3 separate regions of the Homo sapiens genome follow, and regions 1 and 2 are each linked to region 3. Evidence: promoter capture Hi-C in 16 types of primary human blood cells and fetal thymus (Javierre and others, 2016). All regions are on one chromosome and are shown on one strand. Each heading gives the region's core, a stretch centred on a gene start or on the middle of the fragment in contact. The rest is flanking DNA. Distances are from core to core; before and after follow the strand shown.

What was found. Contacts are between HindIII fragments. The CHiCAGO score rates a contact against its expected background, and 5 or more counts as called.
Region 1: a contact is called between a fragment that was not itself captured here and the fragment with the promoter of TTLL11 in region 3, in 1 of 17 cell types (endothelial precursors). The highest score is 6.5, in endothelial precursors.
Region 2: a fragment that was not itself captured here is called in contact with the fragment with the promoter of TTLL11 in region 3 in 2 of 17 cell types (endothelial precursors and M1 macrophages); the score reaches 9.0 in endothelial precursors.

What each region holds. Positions count from the first base shown.
Region 1 is chr9:122,423,795-122,428,414 of GRCh38, reverse strand. No RefSeq gene overlaps it. Among named protein-coding and RNA genes, the nearest start is that of OR1J1, 52 kb to the left of the region's middle. The HindIII fragment of the contact is 849 bases long and covers 1,647-2,495 here.
Region 2 is chr9:122,443,503-122,448,289 of GRCh38, reverse strand. It overlaps a transcript of OR1J2 not described here. Among named protein-coding and RNA genes, the nearest start is that of OR1J1, 32 kb to the left of the region's middle. The HindIII fragment of the contact is 2,196 bases long and covers 1,948-4,143 here.
Region 3 is chr9:122,090,543-122,095,200 of GRCh38, reverse strand. TTLL11 (tubulin tyrosine ligase like 11) reads left to right here and starts at 1,893. Exons shown (of 9, transcript NM_001139442.2): 1 at 1,893-2,514. The coding sequence starts at 2,053. LOC124902263 (a long non-coding RNA gene) reads right to left here and starts at 1,069. Exons shown (of 2, transcript XR_007061757.1): 1 at 1,029-1,069; 2 at 1-27. It overlaps LOC124902262 (a long non-coding RNA gene), which reads right to left. Exons shown (of 3, transcript XR_007061755.1): 3 at 3,922-4,164. RefSeq lists enhancers at 1,713-1,902, 1,652-2,365 and a silencer at 2,253-2,302. The HindIII fragment of the contact is 9,416 bases long and covers 1-4,658 here.

The DNA.
Region 1 (4,620 bases), core at 822-3,321, 330 kb before region 3:
AATTAGCTGGGTGTAGTGGTGCGCACCTTTAATTCCAACTACTCGCGAGGCTGAGGCAGGAGAATCACTCGAACCCGGGAGACAGAGGCTGCAGCGAGCAGAGATTGCACCACTGCACTCCAGCCTGGGCGACAGAGTGAGGTTCTGAAGAAAGAAAGAAAGGAAAGAAAGAGAGAGAGAGAGAGAGAGAAGGAAGGAAGGAAGGAAGGAAGGAAGGGGGAAGGAAGGAAGGAATAAAGAAGAAAGAAAGAAGAAAGAAAGAAAGAAAAAAAGAAAGAAAGAAAGAAAAAAAGAAAAGAAAAGAAAGGCCAAAATTAAAAAGTAGGTTTAAACTCAAAACTATCACCAATTACATCAAACGCAGATATTCTAACTACCTCCTTCCCAGAGGCTTAAAAAACAAAGATTATCACCATGGTTTTAAAAAGTTCCAACTAAATGCTTTCTACAAGAAATATAAATTAACCTAAAGATAGAGAAGAGTACTGGGAACAGAGCCAATTCTGCAGGGTTGTTTTTTTTTTTTTTTTTCAGTTCATGCATGAAAACTTCATTATGGACAAACACTGATCCACAGACTAACACTTGAGATGCCTTGGTGTAGAATACACTGGAATCTGGGAGTTCATTCAAAAGTTACGTAGTTTAAGGTTAAGATTTTATTTGGGTCCTGGAACACGTTCGGTGGGTGCTGTCTCAGCTCACCTGGAAGCAGATGTCTGATGGCCTTATTTCTAGGCACAAGTCCTCATTAGTCTCCTCAGCTTTATAAAGATAATAATAATATCATTTATTGAACACTTACTATACTCTTGTTATTGTGTTACATACTTTACTTGTGTAAACATATTTAATCCCAACGACAACCCTACAAGACAGATACTGATGTTATTCACATTTTATAGATGAGAACCTGGAGACTTGGTGAAATTTTTAACTTGTTTATTACTGCACAGTTAGTTGAGTTATGGAGTTAGAATCTGAAACATCTGTCTGACTGAAAGCCCTGCACTAAATACTAGTGTGTTGTTTGATTGCCAACTCTAAATAGGATTCACCTCTACTTGATTGATAATAGACACCAGCCGCAGCTTAGGTATCAACGAGGGACTATTAGTTGGTGGTCACTGATACTCAGTGTTTACCAAAAGTTTAACTAAAAGAAAATATATTTAGGGAAGCTTGCTCAAAGGACATGCAGGTCATCCATACCTACCTGCAAGACTAAAATCCAATATGTTGTCCACCCAAACCACTGGAAATCTGAGCACCTAGACAGCATTCTTTTTGCCTCTGAGCTATTGTTTACTGTGAATTTTTACACCCCAATTTGATTGCCAAAGCCTACATTAAGACGGATTAAAAGAAACCCCATGCAATGTGTCTGTTCTTAGAACCGCAGATGATATAATTTCACCTAATCAAGTGGTTTATTTTTACTTTTGGTCCCAGTGAACTGTGTGACTGACCAGAAAGCCTGAGCCAAATCTGAGGCCCACCCATAACAACAGTCATCATAATCTGCATTTTCAGAGTCATTCCTGGCTCAATTTTATGTCTCCACCCTTGTTTATCCCCCCTTTTGTTCTTTTTCTAACCTCATTTTCCATTTATCTTATCTTGTATTTTATACGTATTTCCAAGCTTCCTTAAATTCTTCAGGAATAAGACTTGGCATAAATATAAATAAATTTGAGGAAATCTACCAAAATGTAGAAACAGTGGTTACCTCTGGATAGCAAAAGTATAGATTTTTTTAAATCTGCATCTTCATAAAGGATCTCATGCCCTGACCATAAACATTCTTTCTTTTATAAGTATGAAGACATATTTCTAATTACAGATAAACTGTAAAATTCTAATTTTTTGTTATGAATATTGGTAAAAATGTAGTCCATTAATAGAGACTGAAGGTAAAGACGGTGATATTCATCAGGAGAGAGACTATATAGTTGATTTGATGTATCAAATTGGCTGAGCCATGGTAACAAGGTGTTTGGTCAAACATTATTCTATGTGTTTCTGTGAAAGTGTTTTTTTGGCAATTCCTGACCTACTGGTTCAATGAAATCTCAATCAAAATTCTATTGGGCTCTTTTGTAAGTTGAAAATTTTAAAATAAAATTTATATGGAAATGGCAAAAAACCTAGAAGAACCTAAATAACTTTGGGGGAGGAAAGAAGACCCACACCATGCAATTCAAGACTTACTAAGCTATAATAATCAAGACAGTGTACTTTTGGTTTTAAAGCTCAATCAAACAAGAGTTCAGAAATAGATCTACAGTTATATGGTCAATTGATTTTTGACAAAAATTCCAATGCAATAGAGAAAGGACAGTTTTTCAACAACTGATGCTGGAACAATTGGATATCCATATAAAAAAATCAATCCTTAACTCACACCATATATATAAATTAATTCAAAATGGATCATGGACTTAAATGTAAGAGCTAAAACTGTAAAACTTATAGAAGAAAACAAAAGAAAAGCTTTGTAACCTTGGATTAGGCAAATAATTTTCACATAAGAAACAAAAAGCAAAAACCATAATAGAAAAAAACTGCTAAATTCAGCATCATCAAAATTTTAAACTTCTGCTGTTTGAAAGATACTGTTAAGAGAATGTAAAGACAAGCCACAGGCTGGGAGAAAATGTTTGCAAAACACATACCTAATAAAGACTTTATCTAGAAAAAAGAACTCTCACAATCAATTATAAGACAAATAGCTCAAATAGTGGGCAAAGGATCTGAACAGACACTTAATCAAAGAAGATATACAGATGGCAAATAAGCACATGAAAAGATGCTTGACACCACTGGTCATTAGGGAAATGCAAATCAAAACCACAATGAAATACCACTACACATCACTAAAATGGCTAATACCAAGCTCTGGTGAGAGAAGCACCTGGAAATTGTATCCATTGCAAAATGGAGCAGCCCTTTTTGAAAACAGTTTAGCAGTTTCTTTAAAAGTTTAACACATACCTACCATACAACCCAGCAATCCTATCCCTAGGTATTTACCCAAAAGACAAGGAACCATATGTTCACACAAAGAACTGTATGCCAATGTTTAGAGCAGCTTTATTCACAGTAGCCAAACAGTGGAGACAGTCCACCAATGATGAATGGATAACCAAATTGTGGTACATCCATATGCAGCAATAAAAATGAACGAATTACTTATATGTGCAACAACTTGGAAGAATCTCAAAAAAAGTATGCAAAATCAAAGAAGCTGGACCAAAAAAAGGCTACATCTTATATCATTCTAATTGTATGACATTCAGGAAAAGGAAGCAGGAAATCAGATCACCGTTTGCCTGGGGCTAGGAGTGGCAGAAGGATAGTGACTACCAATGGGTAGGAGAGAACTTTTGTGGCAATAAGAATATTGTGTATCTTCATTGTAGTTGTTACATAACGGCATACTGTTGTCAAAACTCATCAAATGGAATACTTCCTATGAATAAATGCTATTGTTCATAAATTATGCTTTAGAAAACTTAATTTTAGAAAAAACACTTTGTAGAAAATAAAAGTTATATTTTAGAACTTAGGCTATGGAAAGATTTTCTAAATAAGATCAAAATGTAGCAAAAACAAAATATTGATAAAGTTGGCTCACATTAAAGCCAAAATCTTTGCAATAATCTGACTACAAGACTATGTGAACTGGTCCTGTGGCCATTCTGACCTCAGCTCCTGCCCCTCTTTATTCATTCAGCCCAGTCCAGCCATACTGGTCTGTTATTCCTTAAATACATCAGGTGCACTACTACCTCAGTGCTCTCACCAATCTCATTCTATAATGTTATGCCTCCTTCAACACAGAGGATATCACTGAGGTTGACTATGGCCATGCAAGACCCATCTCCCCCAACTTGGTCCCTCAATTCTAGGTGTCATTCCCAATCAGACCCAGGTAGGTCCTACTTTTTGGACTTGGAAGGGGGGCAGACGAGCCTGAGAGAGAAGTGCCTGTTTCTCCAGTATTCTGAATTGGTGACAGCCAAAGGCCGTGTTTCCAATGAAGATACTGATCCATGGAGAGACTACGCTTAATTTTTAATTACTGCTCCCTTAGAAGAAGACAAACTTTTAACCACATATGCCACTTAATTAAACCACAGAGATCTTCTCTGCATGGCTAATTACTATTGAAGCAGATGAGCCAGGAGATTCTCAAATGAAGTTTCTCTGGGGCCTCGTTAACAAGAATGGAGCACACCCCACAGAGGCAGCTACATGCGCACTGAAACTTTTCTGATATTTTACACTCAAAGCCTCCTAGCTTCCTCAAGAGGTTCTGATCACCAACCAATACCATTATCAAAAGCATCTTCCCAGCTGGACCCTGCCTAACTCCCTAGCCTCATTTCTCTTCATGATCTATCATTCTCTCTATTCCCAGAAATAACAAATAGGTTTCATCTCTTACCCTGCCACTATTTAACTAAGAGTAGCTGCCTGGAGTGCTAAGTTGAGAATGATTCAAAGGTTCAAATCAATCCCCATGAGAAATAATGCTCTGTGATAGATTAACAATGTCTGCCATGAATGTGGAATGGGGAGATTGTAGTGTGAAAGCTATATATTCTCCATCTCTGC
Region 2 (4,787 bases), core at 1,796-4,295, 350 kb before region 3:
AGATGTTTAGGTGGAGAAAAGCATAAATCTGGCCTACGTGTATATCCACGCATAGTACCTTCCCTTGAATTTATTTGTGACACAGATTCCTTTGCACATATGTTTTCTTGGTGACCTTCTCCCCACTATCACCCTGTTCTCCTGCCGCATTCCCCTTGCTGAGATAGTGAAAATAGTAATCAATAAATACTGAGGGAACTCAGAGACCGGTGCCAGTGCAAGTCCTCCGCAGGCTGAGTGCCAGTTCCCTAGGCCCACTGTTCTTTCTCTATACTTTGTCTCTGTGTCTTATTTCTTTTCTCAGTCTCTCATCCCACCTGACAAGAAATACCCACAGGTGTGCAGGGGCTGGCTCCCTTCATCGGGCTCAACCAATCCTCCCGCCTTGGTCTTCCAAAGTGCTGAGATTACAGATGTGAGCCACAGCACTCAGCCTCGACTATTTTTAATTTATTTTATCTTGTCTGTTGTATGTATCCTTCTAAACAACCCTATTGTTTTTAGAACAGGATGAGACAGAAAAAGAAAAGAAAGAGAAGGAAGGAAGAAAGGAAAGGAGAGAGCAAATAAGGAAAGGAAGGAGGAGCGGAGGAAAGAAACCCAGCCAGTCAAGCACTTGGCTTGTTTTTTTTTTCATGTGAATCTGGAGCATCTCAGAATGCAACTTCCAGGAATCCCAAAGTATAGATTAACAGAAAGTCTAGTGTCTCTCCTGAACAAGCCCTTGTCTCATTTGATACGTACAGAGATACTTGAGTATGCTTCCCAGTATCCATAGGGCCAGGATTTCATTTTCCCTCTTTGACCAAAAGACAGAGGTGCTCCATAGAAGACAGATGACTCCATGCCCAGTAACAGAGGCTACAAGAATTAAAGAAAGAAGAAAGAAACACAAAAAGTGGCTCAACAGTCAAAGAGAGGTTTATTTTGGAGAATAAACCTGAGAGGGGCTTCTGGCCAAGTTAGGTCAGAGGCATTCTCTCTTACAGACTGAGAGGTTTTAAGGGTTCAAGGCAGAAGAGCTTATCACGGGCTTGGAATGTTTGTCTGTCTTGCTTATCTGGGAGGGAGGGTTTTTGTGTCTGTTCCCACACATCTTCCTGCAGCTGCAGGCATACCCCCTGAGTCTGCTTTTAGCTTCCCTATCTTCGTGCACCTAAAGGGAAAGGAATGTACTTATTAGGACCCACTGTTTTACTGGGGCCCATTGTGAGTGTGAAGTTTGGTGGTTACCCAAGAGACTTTCCCCCTCTCTCTGTGCCCAAGCTGTCTTATCTGTGTTTTACCGTCTGCTCTTTCTGGCTGCTTATTGTTAGAAGATAAGTGATTTCCTTGAAATGCATGAGGTTAGAAAGGGAGCTGGAACTTAAAGTGGAGCTGTTTGTCCAAGATAACAGTACTCCTGCTCTGTCAGAGGCCAGTAACTGGAAGGAGCTGGAGGGCCACTATTGCAACTAAAACTGGAACAATTCTTAGAGTTTCCCCAATAGATAAATCATGTAAAACTATTCTTACTACATGCTGAAAATTCAGCACTTAAAGAGCCCCCGACATTGTCAATATCCCGAGAATCCAAAGAACCTGATAGAATTTGTAAACCAACATAACTCTAATCTACCTTCATCACTTGTCCCTGGACTAGCATAAATACACACACACACACACGCACACACACACAACCAAGCCACACTATTCCATTACCTGAAAACTATTGTCCCCCAATATTAAGCTATCCCATACCAAAAGACAAAATAGCATTTCACTTTTATAGACATCCCTCATATTCCAAAATACTCACTCCTGTTCCTCAACCTGAGTTACCTACAAATGGGGAAGCTGAGTCACACCTCTGAGATATGACCATGAAAGCTCTGGGAATATTCTCAGTACTAGGGAAGAGGCAATGACATGCTCCATCTCCTTGGGCTGTCCTTTGCTTGCTAAGCTTGGAAAAGGTTGACCAGGCATGATGGCTCACGCCTGTAATCCCAGCAATTTGGGAGACCAAGGCGGGTGGATCATTTGAGCCCAAAAGTTTGAGACCAGCCTAGGCAACATGGCAAAACCCTGTCTGTACCAAAAAAAAATGCAAAAATTAGCCAAGTGTGGTGGCACATGTCTGTAGTTACAGCTACTCAGGAGGCTGAGGTGAGAGGCTCACTTGAGTCCAGGAGGCAGAGGTTGCAGTGAGCGGAGATCACTTCACTGCACTCCAGCCTGGGTGACAGAGCCAGACTCTATCTCAGAGAAAAAAAAAAGAAACAAACAAAACAAAACAAAACAAATTGGAGAAGTCATAGAGCAGAGTTCCCTGAGGGAAGAGCTGGGAGAGAGACTACCCTGTTCCCTTGGAGCACAAAGGGCCCTAAGGAGGCCTGGCAAAGGAAGGTTAAAGCATTACAGTTGGGACAGGGTCTCCAGACCACACAGGTCCTCACTCAGTGGTTCTGGGTCACTCTGTCTGCTAGGATGGGAAGTTAGGATGGTGCTGGGGACCAGAGGTGGGGAATGAGTCAGGGATCTGAAGCAGTATCAGGAAAACCTATGACCACTGTCACTCTGCTTCCCTCTTCTTGTATCCTTGTTCTCCCCTAGGGAGTTAATGAGTGGGAAATGTCAGGTGGCTGGAGCCTTCAGCTGAAGTGTGGTTTCTGAATAAATTTGCAGACACAGTGTGGAAAAGGCTTCTGCTTCTGGACAGTGGAAATAAAACATCTGGACACAGGAGGCGCCATGACTAAATAGCCCCGTCTATCATGTATGCCTTCCTCACTGCCCTCCATGGGAGAATGGTGGGTTCCAAAATGTCCATGAGTCAAACATGGGCAAAAAATCACTCTGAGTGTTTTGATAAGACCCCAGTGAATCAGGAAAGGCTTATTCATGTGTTATTGTCCAAATGAACCCAATGAAATCAAGCACTATCCATGTGTACAGAAAGGAATGAGGGGTCACTATGACTAAACCTCTGATTTTTACATGTTTGGTTAATCTAAGTGCAGACCAGGCAGGCTTCCAAGATTTAGCTATGACTGGTTACTTTACTAAAATATTTTCTCTTCCTCATAGTATAAATACTAACATTTGGGGATGGGGATGTTGACCACCTGCTGGGCATTGTGCTTTAACATGCTTTTGTTCAGCAAATCTTCTCAACTTTGAGATAGGTACTCCCATTGTCCCCACTTCACAGATGGAGAAACCGTGTCACAGAGAGGTTAGGTGACTTGCCCTAGATCACTTGCCTGATAAGAGGCAGGACCATATACCTAAAAAGTGGACCAGCACCCATTCTCTTAACCTCCATGCACATGACCTCTATTACAGGCAAACCATTTACTCTTTTCATGGAGAAGCCAAGAAGTCCAGGTACCAGTCTTGACTAACAATAAAAATGTCAGGATAATTAAGGTTCTTCCTCCCATCATGCTCCAATTTCTCCCTTCTTTAAAATGATCCTAATGGATCTCTAGGAATTTCTCCAACTCAGAGTCCCTAGGAGTCTGTTTTAAAGTTGAAGCTGTAAGAGACCAAGAGGCACCTTCAAGGAGAGGGGTTCCCGCCATTCTGGTTGGTCTCTGTCCCATCTGTAGTGACTTAAATGGAATGCTGCTCTTTAGATAGTGGCTTGAGGTCTGTTGCATTTCTTCTTTACATCTGTTCATAATTATAAATGTCCATCTAAGCATTATTTCATCTCGAAAATATTTATCAAGGGACCATTGTGTCCCAGGCACCATGCCAGGTGGGATGGGGTAACAAGGAACCAGACACAGTTCTTGTATTCAGGCAGCTCACAGTCTAGTGGGGAAGACAGTGTTGTAAGTACTGATTTAGTTCCAGGTCGTGTGTGTGAGAGGGTTGCCTATCGTGGAGGAACATCAGGAAGGCTTCCAAAAGGATGCAATATCTAATCTGAGGCAAAGGGTGAGGACTAATCACCAGGGCTAACAGAGAGAGGGAACGGGCATTTTCAGGCAGATGGAATAGTAAGTCCCTAAGGCAAGAAGCAGCAAGAAATATTTTACAATGGGCACATGGAATGCAAGAAGTCAGGGAGAAAGGCAAAAGATGGAGCAGAGCCCAGCAGGAGCCCATCATGGGAAGGAGATTAGCTTTAAGTCTGCAGGCCATGGAGAAGCTTGTGCAGCACAAACATCACTGTTATGGCTGAATTGTGCCCCTTCCAAAAAAAATATGTTGGAGTCCTAACCCCTAGTACCTCAGAATGTGGCATTATTTGGAGATGGGCCCTTTAGAGAGATAATCAAGTTAAGATAAGGTCATGAGGGTGGGTCATAATCCAACACGACTGGTGTCCTTATAAAGAGGAGAAGTTTGAATACAGAAACAGAAACACATGTGCATAAAGGAAGGCAATATGAAGAGACACAGAGAGAAGACAGCTATCTACAAGCCAGAGAGAAAGGTTCAGAACAGATCCTTCCATCACAGCCCTCAGAAGGAACCAATCCTGACAACACCTCAATTTCGGACTTCCAGCCTCCAGAACTGTGAGACAATACAAATACACTTCTGTTGTTTAAGCCATTCTGTTTGTGGTACTTTGTTACTGCAGCCCTATCAAGATAATACAATGATGTATTCAAACTTGCATTTTATAAAAACTGATTTGCCTACAATGTAGAGAATGGATTGAAAGGGGGCCGTCATCTCTGCAAGGAGCCTGGTTTGGAGACAAGACATGATAAAGGTCTCCATAAGGGCAGGAAGAGCTGACATGGAGAGAGGTGAACAGACTGAGAGACGTGGGAGAGGCAGAATCT
Region 3 (4,658 bases), core at 644-3,143:
GCTGTTACACCTTCTCAACCCCACTTCCTAAAAAAACAAATGCGGCTCCCTCAGGTGGGAGGGGAGAGCTTTCTCCTTGGTTTGGCTTTAAAATGATGGCAACTCCCAAAAATGGAAAGCAGGGGCTCAAACAGGTATTTGTATACCAATGTTAACCGACATTCTTCACAATAGCCAAAAGGTGGAAACAACCTAAGTCCATTGACAGATGAATGGATAAAAACGAGGTGGTGTATGCACACGACGAAATATTTTTCAGTCTTAAAAATGAGTGAAATTTGGACTCATGCTACAACATGGAGAAACCTTGAGGACATTATGCTACGTGAAATAAGCCAGACAAATACTGTATGATTCCACTGACATGAGGAACCAGGAATAGTCAAATTCATAGTCAGAAAGTAGAAATGGTGGTTCCCAGGGACTAGGAGAGAAGGGAATCCCGACTTATTGTTTCATAGACACAAAGTTTCAGTTTGGTAAGATAAAAGAGTTCCGGAGACCCATAGTGGTGCTGGTTGCACAACAATGTGAGTATACAGAATGCCACTGAATTGTACACTAAAAATGGTTAAAATGGCAAATTTTGTTATATTTTACCACAACAAAAAAAGTGATATAAGTAAAAGCAGTCAGGCTGGACGTGGTGGCTCACGCTTGTAATCTCAGCACTTTGGGAGGCTGAGGCGGGTGGATCATCTGAGGTCGGGAGTTAGAGACCAGCCTGGCCAAGATGGTGAAACCCCGTCTATACTAAAAATACAAAAAATTAGCCGGGCATGGTGGCCGGCTCCTGCAATCCCAGCTACTCACAAGGCTGAGGCAGGAGAATTGCTTGAAGCCGGGAGGCGGAGGCTGCAATGAGCCGAGATCACACCATTGCATCCCAGCCTGGGCGACAAGAGCGAAACTCTGTAACAACATCAACAACAACAACAAAACAAAAACAAAAACAAAAAAGAAAACAAGAGACGCGGTGGTTCTGCTTGTAATCCTAGTACTTTGGGAGGCCGAGGCTGGCAGATTACCTGAGGTCAGGAGTTTGAGAACAGCCTCGGCAACATGGCGAAACCACGTTTCTACGAGAAACACAAAACTTAGCCGGGAGTGGTGGTACATTCGTGTAGTCTCAGCTACTCGGGAGGTTGGGGTGGGAGGATCCCTTGAGCTCTGGAAGTTGAGGCTGCTGCAGTGAGCCGGGATCGCGCCACTGCACTCCAGCCTGGGCGACAGAGAGAGACCCTGTCTAAAAAAAAAAAAAAAAAAGAAAAAAAGAAAAGAAAAAGAAAAAATCGTTAATATCCTCAACTCGAGTGGGAATCTATAGGGGGCTTACCCATGCCCATGACTTCCCCATCCCATCGGGAGCTCCCTGAGAACAGGGAAAAGTGCCTCCCCTCTTATCTGGGGGCGCTCAAAGGACCAGCAGAGGGTTTCTTCAGCGGAACACTCTCTGCTCCCCTAGGGCCTGGGCTGCTCACATCCATCGCACTGAGGAGGGTCCCATCCATTGCACTGAGGAGGGTCCCATCCATTGCACTGAGGAGGGTCCCACTGGGGGGCTCCTCCTCCGTCCTATCGAGAGTTATCCCAGCGAGTGTTGGCGGGGACTGAGCCTCCTGCTTGAGGTAGTTGTTTTTACTCCCAGTCCCCAGGCTCACGAGCCCCACGCGCGCTCAATCTGCCCTCCCGCTTCTCCTCGCCACTCCGAGTTCTGCGCCCTCGAGATCCAGCGCATCCGCGGGGTGGGCGGGTCCTGGCGGCTCTTTGCCCTCTTCCAACATGGCCGCCGCTGCCTCTGTGACAGGCAGGGTCACGTGGGCAGCCTCGCCTATGAGGTCGCTGGGGCTCGGCCGGCGATTGTCCCTTCCCGGACCCCGTCTCGATGCGGTGACTGCCGCTGTCAACCCGAGCCTGAGCGATCATGGCAACGGGCTCGGGCGGGGAACGCGTGGCAGCGGCTGCAGCGGCGGCAGTTTGGTGGCGGACTGGGGCGGCGGAGCGGCGGCGGCGGCGGCGGTGGCACTGGCACTGGCCCCGGCCCTGAGCACCATGCGGCGGGGCAGCTCCGAGAGCGAGCTGGCGGCCCGGTGGGAGGCGGAGGCGGTGGCTGCGGCCAAAGCGGCGGCCAAAGCTGAGGCCGAGGCCACAGCGGAGACGGTGGCGGAACAGGTCCGCGTGGACGCGGGCGCGGCCGGGGAACCGGAGTGCAAGGCAGGGGAGGAGCAGCCCAAGGTCCTGGCCCCGGCCCCGGCGCAGCCCAGTGCGGCTGAGGAGGGGAACACCCAGGTCCTTCAGCGGCCGCCGCCCACGCTGCCCCCGTCCAAGCCGAAGCCGGTGCAGGGCCTCTGCCCGCACGGGAAGCCCCGGGACAAGGGCCGAAGCTGCAAGCGGAGCTCGGGCCACGGTTCCGGCGAGAACGGCTCCCAGCGGCCGGTCACCGTGGACAGCTCCAAGGCCAGGACCTCCCTGGATGCCCTGAAGATCAGCATCCGCCAGCTCAAGTGGAAGGAGGTGAGGCCCGGCCCGACCCGGCCGCGTGGGCACAGTGGGGTGGACAGGACGACCTCAGAGGTCTCGGCACGGCCCAGGTCAGGTCGGCGGGCGAGGGCTGAGCTCCTGCGGTGCACCACGCTCGGGCCTGCTTGTCAGCCGCAAAGTGCTCATCCTTCAAGGCCTACCCCCCAAAATCACTTCCTCCAAGAGGGCCCCCCAGACCCCTCCAGGTCAAGTTAGCCACTCACTCCTCTGCCTCCCTGCAGCTCTTTTTATGTCTCAGCCATCAGCATTTGCCTCTGCTTGTAGATATGTGTACGTCTGTCTCCTCCACCAGCTTGTAAGCCCCTGGGGCCCCGGACCCGCTCTCTCACTTCTTCATTGAAGTTATATTTGTTTAGCACTTGCTGTGTGACTCTTGGGCAGAGGAACACTTTTTATTTTGGAGGCAGACAGGCCTAGGGTCTCACTACACTTTGCTACTTAGCTGTGTGACCTTGAGTAAGTTGCTTCACCTCTTCAGCCTATTACCTTCTCTGTAAAGTGAGGCCAATTATACTTATCTCATCATCTTGTTAGCATTAGAAGACTCACTACTTAGTGTTTTATAGCACAAGTCTGCAATAAATGGTAACTTACGTTACCACCTTCTCCTTTCTCTCTTCTTCCACCATCATCACCATCACCACCACCAGCACCACCACTGTCCTCATGATCAGTGGTATAAAATCAGGCACTGTATTTTATATTCCAGGCTTGGCTTACGGCATGTGTCAGTAAGCAGTGAATGAAAGGGTGAATGAATACATGAGTTATCATCCCTGAGCCCATTTTAGACTGGCAGGGGATGGAATGTAGCACCAGTGACTCTAGAGGTGTCTGTTGCAATTGGCTACGTGGATAAAGCCATTTGACTTTATTTGCAGCATATAAGGTATTTAATGTGCTTTCAGGAGTGTCAGGAGTTTGATTAAGGATAGCTGAGTGTGGACACAGCCAGTGGTAACAGGGATCTGCTGCGGGTAACAGAGGACTCAGGTTCTTAGCCCTGTGCCTTGGCTATGGTAGATGCTCGGTAATGGTTTCATTAAGTTGGAACATACAGAGAGATGGCCACAGAAAGGACTGATGTGGTCAGAGGGTTGATGTCCCAATAGGAAAAAGTGCATTTGGTTTGGAGGGAAGTCAAGGATCAGGCAGAACCGACTTCCAGGTGGATAGGGTGTAGCCGTTGGGGAAGTTTGACTCCAAGTGTCTGGGCCCCCAGCCTTGGGGCTTGGGATTCAGAGGGGAACTTTCATGCTGGGGAAACTTGGGGAAAACAAAGGCAGGCTCTCAGTTCTAAAGTATCTGGGTTTCTAGGCAGGGCCCCAGGTCCAGGCCAGAGATATGAGGGCTAGAAAAGGTACAACTGGACAACTTGTCAGTGCCGTGGTCTTAATGAAGGGAGAATCCAGCAAATAAAACCAGGCTATGGAGTCAGGCTAGGCAGATTGGCCCAAGTGGGGCCTCCACTTAGCTTATCCCTGTGGGAGAGAGAGACATAAAGCAGGCCAGATCTCGTTTGCTCGGAGAGATGGGGCCAGATGGACTAATACATCCCAGCCCAGGTTCGTTCACTCATTCCGTAAATGTCCACTTTGGAGGTGCCAAGTTCTTTGCTGGGCCCTGGGAACCAAACATACTTAAGATGTGACCCTTGCCCCCAAGGACTTCATGGTTCAATAGGGAATAAAACACAAGTAAAGGAATAATTGCGGTCATTACAGGTCATTACATTGCTGCTGCATCCTGAAATTCTCCCTTTTCATTTATTTGCATGGCTTACTCTTGTCACTTCTTTAGATGATACCTTCCCCATCAATCTCCAGCCCTTGGTATTTATTTTTTTTCCATAGTACTAAACTTCGCCAGGCATTATATTATGTATTGCTTGTTTATTGTCGTTTCCCTCACTAGAATGTAAGCTCCATGAGGGCAGGGGCTTTGTTTTGTTTATTGCTGTACCCGCAGGTACTTGGCACACAGAAGTTGCTCAATAAATATTCGTTGAATGAATGAATACATTATGTGATGAGTGTTTCTGTGTGAAAGGAGAAATGCTGCGGGAGGTAGAGGAGGGGCACCCAGGAAGGACTTCCTGGAGGAAATAAACCCGAGCT